Linked DNA regions of Homo sapiens: region 2 is linked to region 1. Evidence: promoter capture Hi-C in 16 types of primary human blood cells and fetal thymus (Javierre and others, 2016). All regions are on one chromosome and are shown on one strand. The core of a region is centred on a gene start or on the middle of the fragment in contact, and the rest is flanking DNA. Distances in the headings are between cores, read along the strand shown.

Region 1 (5,098 bases), core at 1,795-4,294:
GAAACTTGGTGAAGAAAAATGACTCTGCCTCACTAAGTCCTGTTTCAAGCCCTAACCTTCAACTGTGTTGATAGTGTTGAGGGAGATATTGATATGGAAAGCTCCAGAAGCATATAAGGAGAAAGAAGCAAACCTTGGGATGTGCTCATCTCCTCACATCCTCCACAGATCCTTCGTGTCTCAGTGTCTGGATGATCTAAGCACCTCAGCAACATAAATTAGCTGAGAGGTAACCAACTGGATAAACTGTAGATTTAAGGTAGAATGTTTCTCCTTGTTTCTTATTTTCACAGTTTCTTCTTAATTATTCAAACACACCCAGTTGGCAGTGCCAGAGAAAAGCATCAGTGGGCTAAGCTAACCCAACTCACAGCAGCACATCTAATGCAAGACAAAATGTGGAAGGTTTCCCAGCCCAACTCCTAATCCATTCTGGAATGCTTGCTTCTCTACATCTCAGATTTATCTACAAACACCAAAGATTCTAATTTCTAACCTCTTGAAGATGAATAAAATGACTGAGAAATACTCATCATTTGCATGGTCATAAAAAGGGAAAACAATTTTTTCATTAGATGGCCTATTTAGGACAACCATTAGAAAGTGGCATGAAAGTCAAACTATTTGGAAGTTATGTTTCCTTATTAAAGTGCAAGAAAGAAAACAGTCTTGAAGATTACAGTCCAGATATTTTCCAAGTAGAAAAATGTTGGTTTCCATATAACATTAGCAAGTCAGAGAGCCATATGAATTGTAACAGGTAACAACTCCCCACCCCTAACTGAAAAAAAAAAAATCAAAAGTGGTTATCTTATATTAATATAAATATGAAGAAAACAAATAATTTGAGATTAAGTAAATGATATATATCCTGAGTAATTTAAAATACCCTATTCTACTTTAGACATAATAACATTTAGAAACCTATTCATTTTGGTTCCTGCGGGGCCTTGGAACACATACCTTAAAAAAAATCCCACCAATAGAATGTTACTTATATATATTCCTGAAAAAAAATGTTTCCTCAAAACTCTTCTCCCAATTTAAATTCTAAAATGCATGACTTGAAATTTATGTTTATATTTCTAGTATCTATATCTATAAAGTTGGAAATCAGTTTTTCAAATGACTCTGAACAAGCCCTCAGAAACTAAAGAGCATATTTAAACTTTCAGATTTATAAGTGTTATAACAAGTTTAATCACTTAAGTCTGTTAATGATTTATAGTGAAAACAACTCAAACTTCCGGTCGGTCTAGTTTTAACTCCTCTTAATTTTACACATTGTTTTATGAGCCCCAAAGGGTTAGGTAGGCATCTTACGGATCACTCCATTGCTAGCACCTCCCACAGCCTCTGTGGTGTGCGGTAGATGCTGTCTGATCTGAACTCACATGGAAAATTCAGCTGCGAATATTTTTACGCAACAGCAAAAACAATCAGCCTTTTTCATATCAAGGTGGGGATTGAGAAGCTAAATGAGAACATTAGGGGCATAAAATTAGTCTGCTTTAACTTTAATAACCAAACGGTGATTGGAAACATACAAACTTTGTGTTTGCAGGAATGAGGGGCTGGGATCACTAAGACTTAAAGGGTTTTTCTCCCCCACCCCGCGACCATGAGCACACAGCAAAACTAATAAAATTATGACCCAGAATTAAAAGGTCGCATTCATTTTCAAAGCATTCATTTAAAAGTACAGAAGCGTTCTTTAAAAATGCCCACATTTTTAAACATAGCAAGAATGTGGCTACCAAATATTAATCCTGAGGAATATGAATACACATTTACCTTCATAATTACACCCAGCAGGTCAAATGTTAGCAAGGCCAACTGACCGAAATCACAAAGACTGATTGAAAATGACCAACAGAAAGTGTCTGTCCGGCTTGGGAGCCCCGCTTGTTCCCAGCCCAACCAGTGGTCAAACATCTGCAGGCAAAGAAATCTACACGCGCCAGCCGGGTATGGCAGAAATCAAACTTTTCCAAATAAGTTAGTTCCGTCTTGCCAATCTACACCCAACAGGTGTCAATACATGTCACCAGACAAAAATCTGGCGAGCCAGGTCTAGAGAAGCAATAGATGGTTGGCAGAGAAGCTGAAACGACTCGACCTCTACCAGGGTAATGAAAGCAAGTCGGGCCACTATTCTGACTGATCACTTGGCAGTGGGGTGGAGGGGTATGGAGATGGGAGAATCCCTGGATGAAGATCGGAAGGAGCGTGGAGATGTCCCGCCACTGGTGACGCGGGGGGATTTCGGAGCATAGTCCCCGCACTCTTTCACGACCCCCGACCCCTGATCCCCGGATTAGGACGGCAAGGGAGTGCGGCGATCAAGGCTGGGAGACCGCGGAGAGAAGGCGCGCGGTACCTGCTTGTCCAGCGCGTCTCGGACGCCTCCCTGCCCGGCGCCGGCCCTGGGTGGCGCGGGCGTTCGTTCGCAGCTGCAGCCCTCCAGGAGGTACATGCCCGCCGGGCGGCAGCTCTGCTCGCCCTCGAAGTAGAAGAGCACATTCTGGTAGAGGGCGAACCACTTCTCGTGCCAGCGGCTCGCCTCGGCCGTCTTCTTACTCAGGAAGCCGCGCTTGGTGCCCTCCTTGCGCGCCAGAAAGGCCAGGTACAGGGCGTGCCCCTCGTTGTAGCGCACGCTCTTCTGCATGGTGCGGGTGCGGAGGGCTCACGGGTGGCCGCCGGTCTCACCCCTGCCTCGCGGCCATGGCCCAGCTGGCTCCCTCGAGGGCGCGACCGCTCAGGTCCCGGCCGGCGAAGGGCGCCCCCTTTCCCCACGCCGCGCGCAGGGCACCCCGCCCGCTTTCGGGAGGCCGCGGCGCGCGGTGGCAGGGGCGCGGGCTGGGGCCGAGGCACGCTCTCCGCCCTAACCACCACCCTCCCGGCCGAGCCCCCGGAGCCCCCCAAGCCCCCAACGCCCGCGTGGAGCGCGGCCCCGCGAGGGCGCCCGAGCCGGCCGCCGCTTCGCCCAAAGTTGCGGGAGCCGAGCCCCCGCGGCGGGCTGGGGCGGCAGCCGGGGAAGGACTGTCCTCGGGCAACGCGCTCCGGGAGACAGAAGGTAAAACGTCACGTGGGAGCTCAGCTGTAATCGGCTTGGAGACCGATTTAAAGGGCAAAGTCGGCGCGGCGCCGGCGGTGGCGCAGCCCGCTTGCCCCGGCTCGCGTCCCTCCCTCGCCCGCCCCGGCCCGGGCCGCTGCCTCTGCTCGGGCGCCCGCCGGGATGGGGCGGATCAGGGAGGTGGAGGCGCCCGGCCGCACCACACACCCGCTCACACGCGCTCGCACACTCGCGCACAACGCGCGCACACACACACGCACACCCACACACACGCAGACCAGTACATTCACCCAGATCCACAATGCACACACTCAGACGCACAAAAATACACTCACAAATGCACACAAACACAATGCGCGCACATATGCACAAAAACACACGCGCACACACTCATGACACACAAATACACATTCTCACAACGCTCACACTCAACACACAGTCACAACGCACAAATGCATATAGACAAATACACCCACAATGTGCGTTCCCGCGCACAAAAATAAAACCCACATTCAGATACACACTTAAGGAGCTACACACATGCACGCAGTGATATGCTCACTTACACACACATTCACACACAACCCACACATTCACTCAAACCCACATTCAAACATACATTCATACACACATTACACTCATACAGTCACACAAACAGCACACATATACTCACACGTTCACAATCATACAGACTCATAAGCAGATAATCAAACACACACACAGATGAACACACATGTACATTCACAAATTCATCCAAAAATACACACAAAGCACTCACACACGTATTCGCACGAATCCACACACTTTCACAAACCCACTCACACATACACACACACTCACATGCCACATCCATAAGTACGTTCCCATGGCAGTAGGTAGAGTCACAGAGTGGCTTTGCATAGCCCGCATCCTTGGCTTTTCTGCTTGTACCTGCATTGTAGTATTTAAAACTGCCGGTAAAGGTTAAGGAGAGTGGCCCAAGTGTTCCCGGAAAGGCATCAGATGCCGAAGTTCTTTCGGAATGCCTGTTATTTCACAGTGGTAAGATGCTAAATTTTAAGTGCCGAGTTTTCAACCTGGAAAAAAATACCCAAATAAGGGACACTTTGCTGCCCAGGGCAGAATCCAACCCCAAAGGCCAGCTGTCACAGGCTCATCGTTTGTAGGACTGGATTCATTTGATTAACAAATCTGACAGGTACAACCAGAAAACCAAGAGCCACCCCCCCGCCCCAACCCCATGCTGTAAAAATGTAAGTGGAAAAGAAATAATGTAGCCAGCAGCTGTGAGAGAAAGCCAGTGAAACCCCCGGGGAGGGCCTATATTTGATTCTGCTATACACATTTTTTATTTTCCCCAGTCATTTATCACTAAAACGGAGTGCCATCATAAAATGTTTATTGTTAAAAGTAAATAATAATGCTTTTCTGGGTGATGAGTCTACGACAATACACCTGTCTTGTACTGCCAGTTGTGTGTTCATGAATTGGTAGCCCCAGGGGTTCTGCCTGTTTCATAAGTGCTGTTTCTGCAGAATATTTTAACTCTGCCTCACTGAGCAGCTGAGTGGGGTTTTTTTTTCCTTTTACCTTTTTAAAAAATTTTCACTTTTAACAAGTATATAGTAGGGAAATTGCCATTTTGAAATTACAGCGTGAGAACAGTGGTCATTTCTCTTTACGTTTTTAAAAATATCTAAAGGACAGTGCTGTGCTAAATTGGGTTTAACCCAGCTGGAAGTTTGCATTGTTCTTCAGAGAAGACACAAGTACAGAGACAGTAAGTAAATGCAGGCAACATTTTGGAGCCAGATTCTAGATGCAGAGGAGCTGGTGATTGCCTCAGGAGGCCTTTTATTTCTTTCTCTGTGGTCCAATCCCAGCTGTGAGAACCGTAAGTGAGTAGACACCTGTGTGGTTGATAAGCTCCATTTTTTTAGTAGAAACCAGTAAGAGTGTGAAATCAGCACAAAAACTATTTTGCCATGAGTAGTCAAACCTTCTAACGCACTTGAGTTTTTT
Region 2 (5,098 bases), core at 741-3,240, 260 kb after region 1:
CTAAATCCTGATTTTTACACATAAGGATGGGCTTACCAGGCAAAAAGCACCATAATCACTCCAGAGAGATCAGCACAGCCTAGCACCTCTGAAAACAAAAGCAGGAAAATCATACAGATACCCTAAGCCACAAAGAGAAATCTGGAAGATGAAGCTTCACTCACTAAGCACCTGGAGGGCAAGCAGCACCAACCAGGAAATGCATTCCACTTTTGAGGTTACAACAAAGAAACCCATAAACACTTCATCTCACCATGAGGACTGGTGGAGGTGAAGACTGAATTCCAGTATTGTTTTCTACACTTAGCCAGTATTTAACTCTGGAATTGTACTTTCAAAAAAGTCATTCTTTGGTGACTGAGCAGGGACGGACAGTAAGGAGGACCTTGTAGGACCTGGGAAGGCCAGGCTGAGCCCATGGGACCCACGCAGGTCACCCTCAGTGACCCACAGTCACGGCGGCGTGGGTAGCACTGATAGACCCAGTGCTGATAGACCCCGGAACAGAAAATCAGGGAGCCCCACTGAGATCAGGACACTTCAGCAGAAGGAGTGTCAAAGGGCAGGACTTCTAAGGAAGATTCTTCCTCCCAGAAGCCCACCATTGTGGCCTGCAGGCCAAATCTCGCAGGACATACTACAGCTGGCTGGGCACCACAGAACACGCCCTATGCAGAAACCACAGACACGTGCTTCCTGGCCCATTATAAAAGATTCCCCTGAGATTATGAACAAAATCAGGCTGCCCACTCTCTGCACTTAGATTTAGTGTTATACTAGTGTTTACGTCCAGTCAACAAACCAATTAAAAAAAAAACTCTTTATATGTTTCTAGAGCACATCAGCACATTGACAAAGGACTACTTTAGTATACAGGATAACAGCAGGAGTGAATAAAAACACATTCCTGAAGTAAAATCTGTGCACTGTTGTTACAGAAGGAAAGATAAAGTATTAGGAAATATGCAAGATGGAAGCTTCTCTCCTTCTTCAAGCAGACTTCAGCATACACAGGACTTCAGAATTAACCTGAGGGAGCCCTTTGCTCTGCAGCCCCAGGAAAATGACAGAGTGTGACAGGAGGCTAAGCTATGTGTCTCTCTGGAGGAATAAGTAGGTGGGAGGGAGGCAGAATCTGACAATCAACCTGCAGGCCAGGCTGCTCCCACTGTTCTCTGGAAGGCAGAAGCAATAGAAATTCTGTATGGGTGGGCAATCTCTTGTCTTAAGCAATTTAATCACCCACAAGTAAACTTTGTGATATCTGGAGGTTGATAGTTAGGAGTTACATAAAAGAATGTAAAGTATACTTACCTATAAGGTAATTCATACATAAATGATACCCTGACTTAGCAACTAGAAATTGCTCACACTTAAAAAGGGCACTAATCACTTTATCAAGTACTTCCTCAACTGCCCAATGTTTCAGTCAGAACCACAATTCAAATGTACATTCCTAAACCTGTCATTTATTATGGACATATTAAATAATAATTGTAATCACCTCAAAGGATTGTTGTGAAGATGACATCAGTTAATTTCAGTAATGGCAGAATGTACCAGGTACATAATAAGAACTTCATTAGCTGTTTTTATTTTTGTTTTGTTGCTGTTGCTTGTCTCGCTCTGTCGCCCAGGGAGGAGTGCAGTGGCATGATCTCGGCTCACTGCCACCTCAGCCACCCGGGTTCAAGTGATTCTCCTGCCTCAGCCTCCCAATTAGCTGGGACTACAGCTGCTTGCCATCATGCGCAGCTAATTTTTGTATGTTTAGTAAAGACAGGGATTTACCATGATGCCCAGGCTGGTCTCAAACTCCTGAGCTCAAGCGATCCACCTTCCTCAGCCTCCCAAAGTACTGGGATTACAGGCGTGAGCCACTGCACCCAGCCAGCTATTTTTTTTTTTAAATAAATTATTTCAACCTTGTTTAAACTTTGCTTTCATTGAGGAATGTATTTTCCCCCAAATCTGTCTAGTTAAGTGTTACCTGTCTTTCTAGGCCCATCTCTTGCATACAGCTGTGCTACTGTCTATAAAACTACATTGCCTTATACAGTAGCTACTAACCACATGCAGTTAATGAGCACTTGAAATGTCATGGCTGGACACAAACTATCTTAAATATGCCATGCGATACCTAGCACTCCTCTGCTCCCAGTGGCTCCCACCAGGTAAGGACTAACCCTGTGGTGTGGTCATGCTCCCATATGGCCATCAGGGAGGCATGCAAGCCCACTCATCATGCATTCTTCTCTAAACTTGCCTTCACATTAAGGTTGGGGACAACCCAGTACACCCACATGGTGTGTTCAGGATTCATGTCCACTCCCATGAGGTGCAGAGCCCAGCTCAGCCAGGCCAAGAAGAGAACTGGACAGAGCTGAAGGTATAAAATAAGGGAGCAGTCACAATGGCACCAAGGGAAAGAATCCTAGGACCTGGTCACGGAGCATTCTGGACTGCAGTGGGGAGCTTCCACAAAAGCCTGGAAAAAACTCAGTATTGTGTATATTAAGTCAATTTATATTAATAAATTTTATATTAATGTATATTGATTATTGATACAAAATCAAGTATCAGAGGGTTTTTGGGTTTTTTTTGTTTCTGTTGTTTTTTCAGAAAGAAGGGTAGAAAAAGAAGGGAGGGAGGAAAAACTGTACAGAAAAACCATACCAGGCCTCCATAGGCTTTTACTGCTTTAGGGATCAAGACTTGGGCCAGAGGTTAAAAAGGATTCACAAAAAAGCTGGCAGGAGGAAGAAATTCCTGGCCTGAAAACAAGAGATAAGAAAATAATCTCAAAGCAAGCAAGCAGGGAAAATAAGAGAAATTAGTAAGAAGTCTCCCTTCAGCAGGGAGGTTCGACAGGAAGAAGTCATTACAAAGACAAATGGACAAGAAGGAGTCCACAAAGGCTGGGAGATAAGCAAGCCCAGAGGAGCTCTGAACTAAGCTGGCCTCAAGTTTTTGACTTCAGGTAGAAAGTGAAAGGAAGCTTTGCTGGAAGGGAAGAGATTAAAAGGGATCTCTCCTTGAACCATGAAAAGGAGAAGAAAAAAATAAAGAGATCCTGAGGACAGACAGTAACTGTATTTGGAGTTCAGTGAAGGGGGATTTTTGTCTTTTACATTGCTGTCAGGTTACACCTTAATGATAGCAGGTGAACTCACCAGTATCAAACAGGGTTAGGGCTCTAGTGGGCTTTGCCACTTACTACCTAAGTGATCCTGTAACTTCAAGAGAGGTTCACAGCATCTCTGCCTCCTTGCAGAAAGAAGAGGATAACTACACTTTCTTCAGAGGGCTGTGCCAGGGTTATTGAAGCCATGAACAATGTGTCTTCAAGAATGATGGGACTCAATCTTTCCCTTCATCTCCTGTCTTTCCTTTTTCTTCCTTTCCATTTACCCCCTACCTTGCAACTCGTACTGTTTCCCTTTGCCTTCACCTGAAATAATAAAGACTACTTTAATATTTAGTGTAGGATTTTTTTAAGATGCTAATAATAAATCATTTAAAAGCACTTTTAATATATTAACATTTATAACACAAACTTCTGGGAAAAGCCATGAGGACAAGACGCTTTAGCTAAATAAAGAGTCTTTATGCAATTAAATCCTCAAACCCAAATGAACAGGTGTATTTACAAAAATCAAGTCGAATTAGTAAAACAAATGCAGCACACCTCACACAATTGCTTCCAAACTTTCTGTTCAAGCAGTCTGGCCCCACTTTAGGAGGTCTCTGTAGTAATCAGGAAGATCTTTTCTCCACACTTCTCAAATGCTGTTTCTTCCTATTCGACTATCAATAAACCTACTGCAAATACACCCCATTTTTTCTTTTCAAGGAGATATATTCCTGAGGAGAATGCACTTGATGAAAATGCACAAAGAAGCTCTCATTCTTTAAATAAACTCATGGCAAATGTTCTTATAAAATAACTATCACCTATTAACTTATCATGTTTTAAAATCTGGATTTTCATGAGTTAAGCACATCCATTAAAATTGCTAGCTAGATATACAAAAAGTATCAGGACTAAAAAAAAAACCTACTGAAAATACAATGGCATTACCACCAGGGAAGAAATTAATGTAATTTTTAAAAAGAAATTTCAAAATGACAGATTTTTTAATACTAATAACACTTCCTCTTTAAATGGTTTCCCAGTGGCAAACATTTTCCTACAGCATATGAGATTTATTTCTTCCATTTAGTCACTACCATCTCTACTACCAGAATTGATTTGTTCTGTCGCCCAGACTGGAGTGCAGTGGGGAGATCTCGACTCACTGCAACCTCTGCCTCCCAGGTTCGAACAATTCTCCTGCCTCAGCCTCCTGAGAAGGTGGGATTACAGGCACGTGCCATCATGCCCAGCTAATTTTTTGTATTTTTAGTAGAGATGAGGTTTCACCATGTTGGCCAGGCTGACCTTGAACTCCGGACCTCAAGTGATCCACCCGCCTCAGCCTCCCAAAGTGCTCGGATTTTAGGCATGAGCCACCCTGCCAGGCCCACAATTTATTTTCTAATTCTAGATTATCTAAATAGTTAAGTGAAACTACCGTCTAATAAACATAATGAAACAGAATGACAAAGTAGTCAACTTTATATTTATCTTCTGCTCTCGAAAAGAGGAATGAGGAAAATGGGGAAGACAAAATATAAAGAAAAAAAGAGATTTCCTACGAATACCACAACAGAAAAGGTTTCAAGCGCCAGAGGGGAGGCTAGTGCCTAGTTATCATCAATATCAATCTTTAAACAGTAACTTAGCCATGTAGATCCCATTAATATTTGCTGTAAAGGAATATCTATGGAAATGTCAGGATGCTTCAATCAATTTACAGTGATATTAAAAAATTTTTTAAAGAAATAAACATAATGGGGAAAAAACGATAAGAAATCAATATGATCTTTCCAAAAGAGTAAATGAATTGGCTACATCTGTATAATGTAAATCTATATAATGTAAATAGACATTGATTACCATATATGTTAATGTATAGATTTCCAGCTACTCCAACAACCTTTTTTTTTTTTTTTTTTTTTTTGGAGACAGTGTTGTACTCTGTTGCCCAGGCTGGAG

The links. Contacts are between HindIII fragments. The CHiCAGO score rates a contact against its expected background, and 5 or more counts as called.
Region 2: a fragment that was not itself captured here is called in contact with the fragment with the promoter of RASGRF2 in region 1 in 1 of 17 cell types (endothelial precursors); the score reaches 5.9 in endothelial precursors.

What each region holds. Positions count from the first base shown.
Region 1 is chr5:80,958,309-80,963,406 of GRCh38, reverse strand. RASGRF2 (Ras protein specific guanine nucleotide releasing factor 2) reads right to left here and starts at 3,044. Exons shown (of 27, transcript NM_006909.3): 1 at 2,381-3,044. The coding sequence starts at 2,668. RASGRF2-AS1 (RASGRF2 antisense RNA 1) reads left to right here and starts at 2,500. Exons shown (of 4, transcript NR_105015.1): 1 at 2,500-2,626. RefSeq lists an enhancer at 2,220-2,941. The HindIII fragment of the contact is 16,452 bases long and covers 1-5,098 here.
Region 2 is chr5:80,699,524-80,704,621 of GRCh38, reverse strand. The region is part of intron 8 of MSH3 (mutS homolog 3); the gene reads right to left. Among named protein-coding and RNA genes, the nearest start is that of DHFR, 47 kb to the right of the region's middle. The HindIII fragment of the contact is 2,021 bases long and covers 980-3,000 here.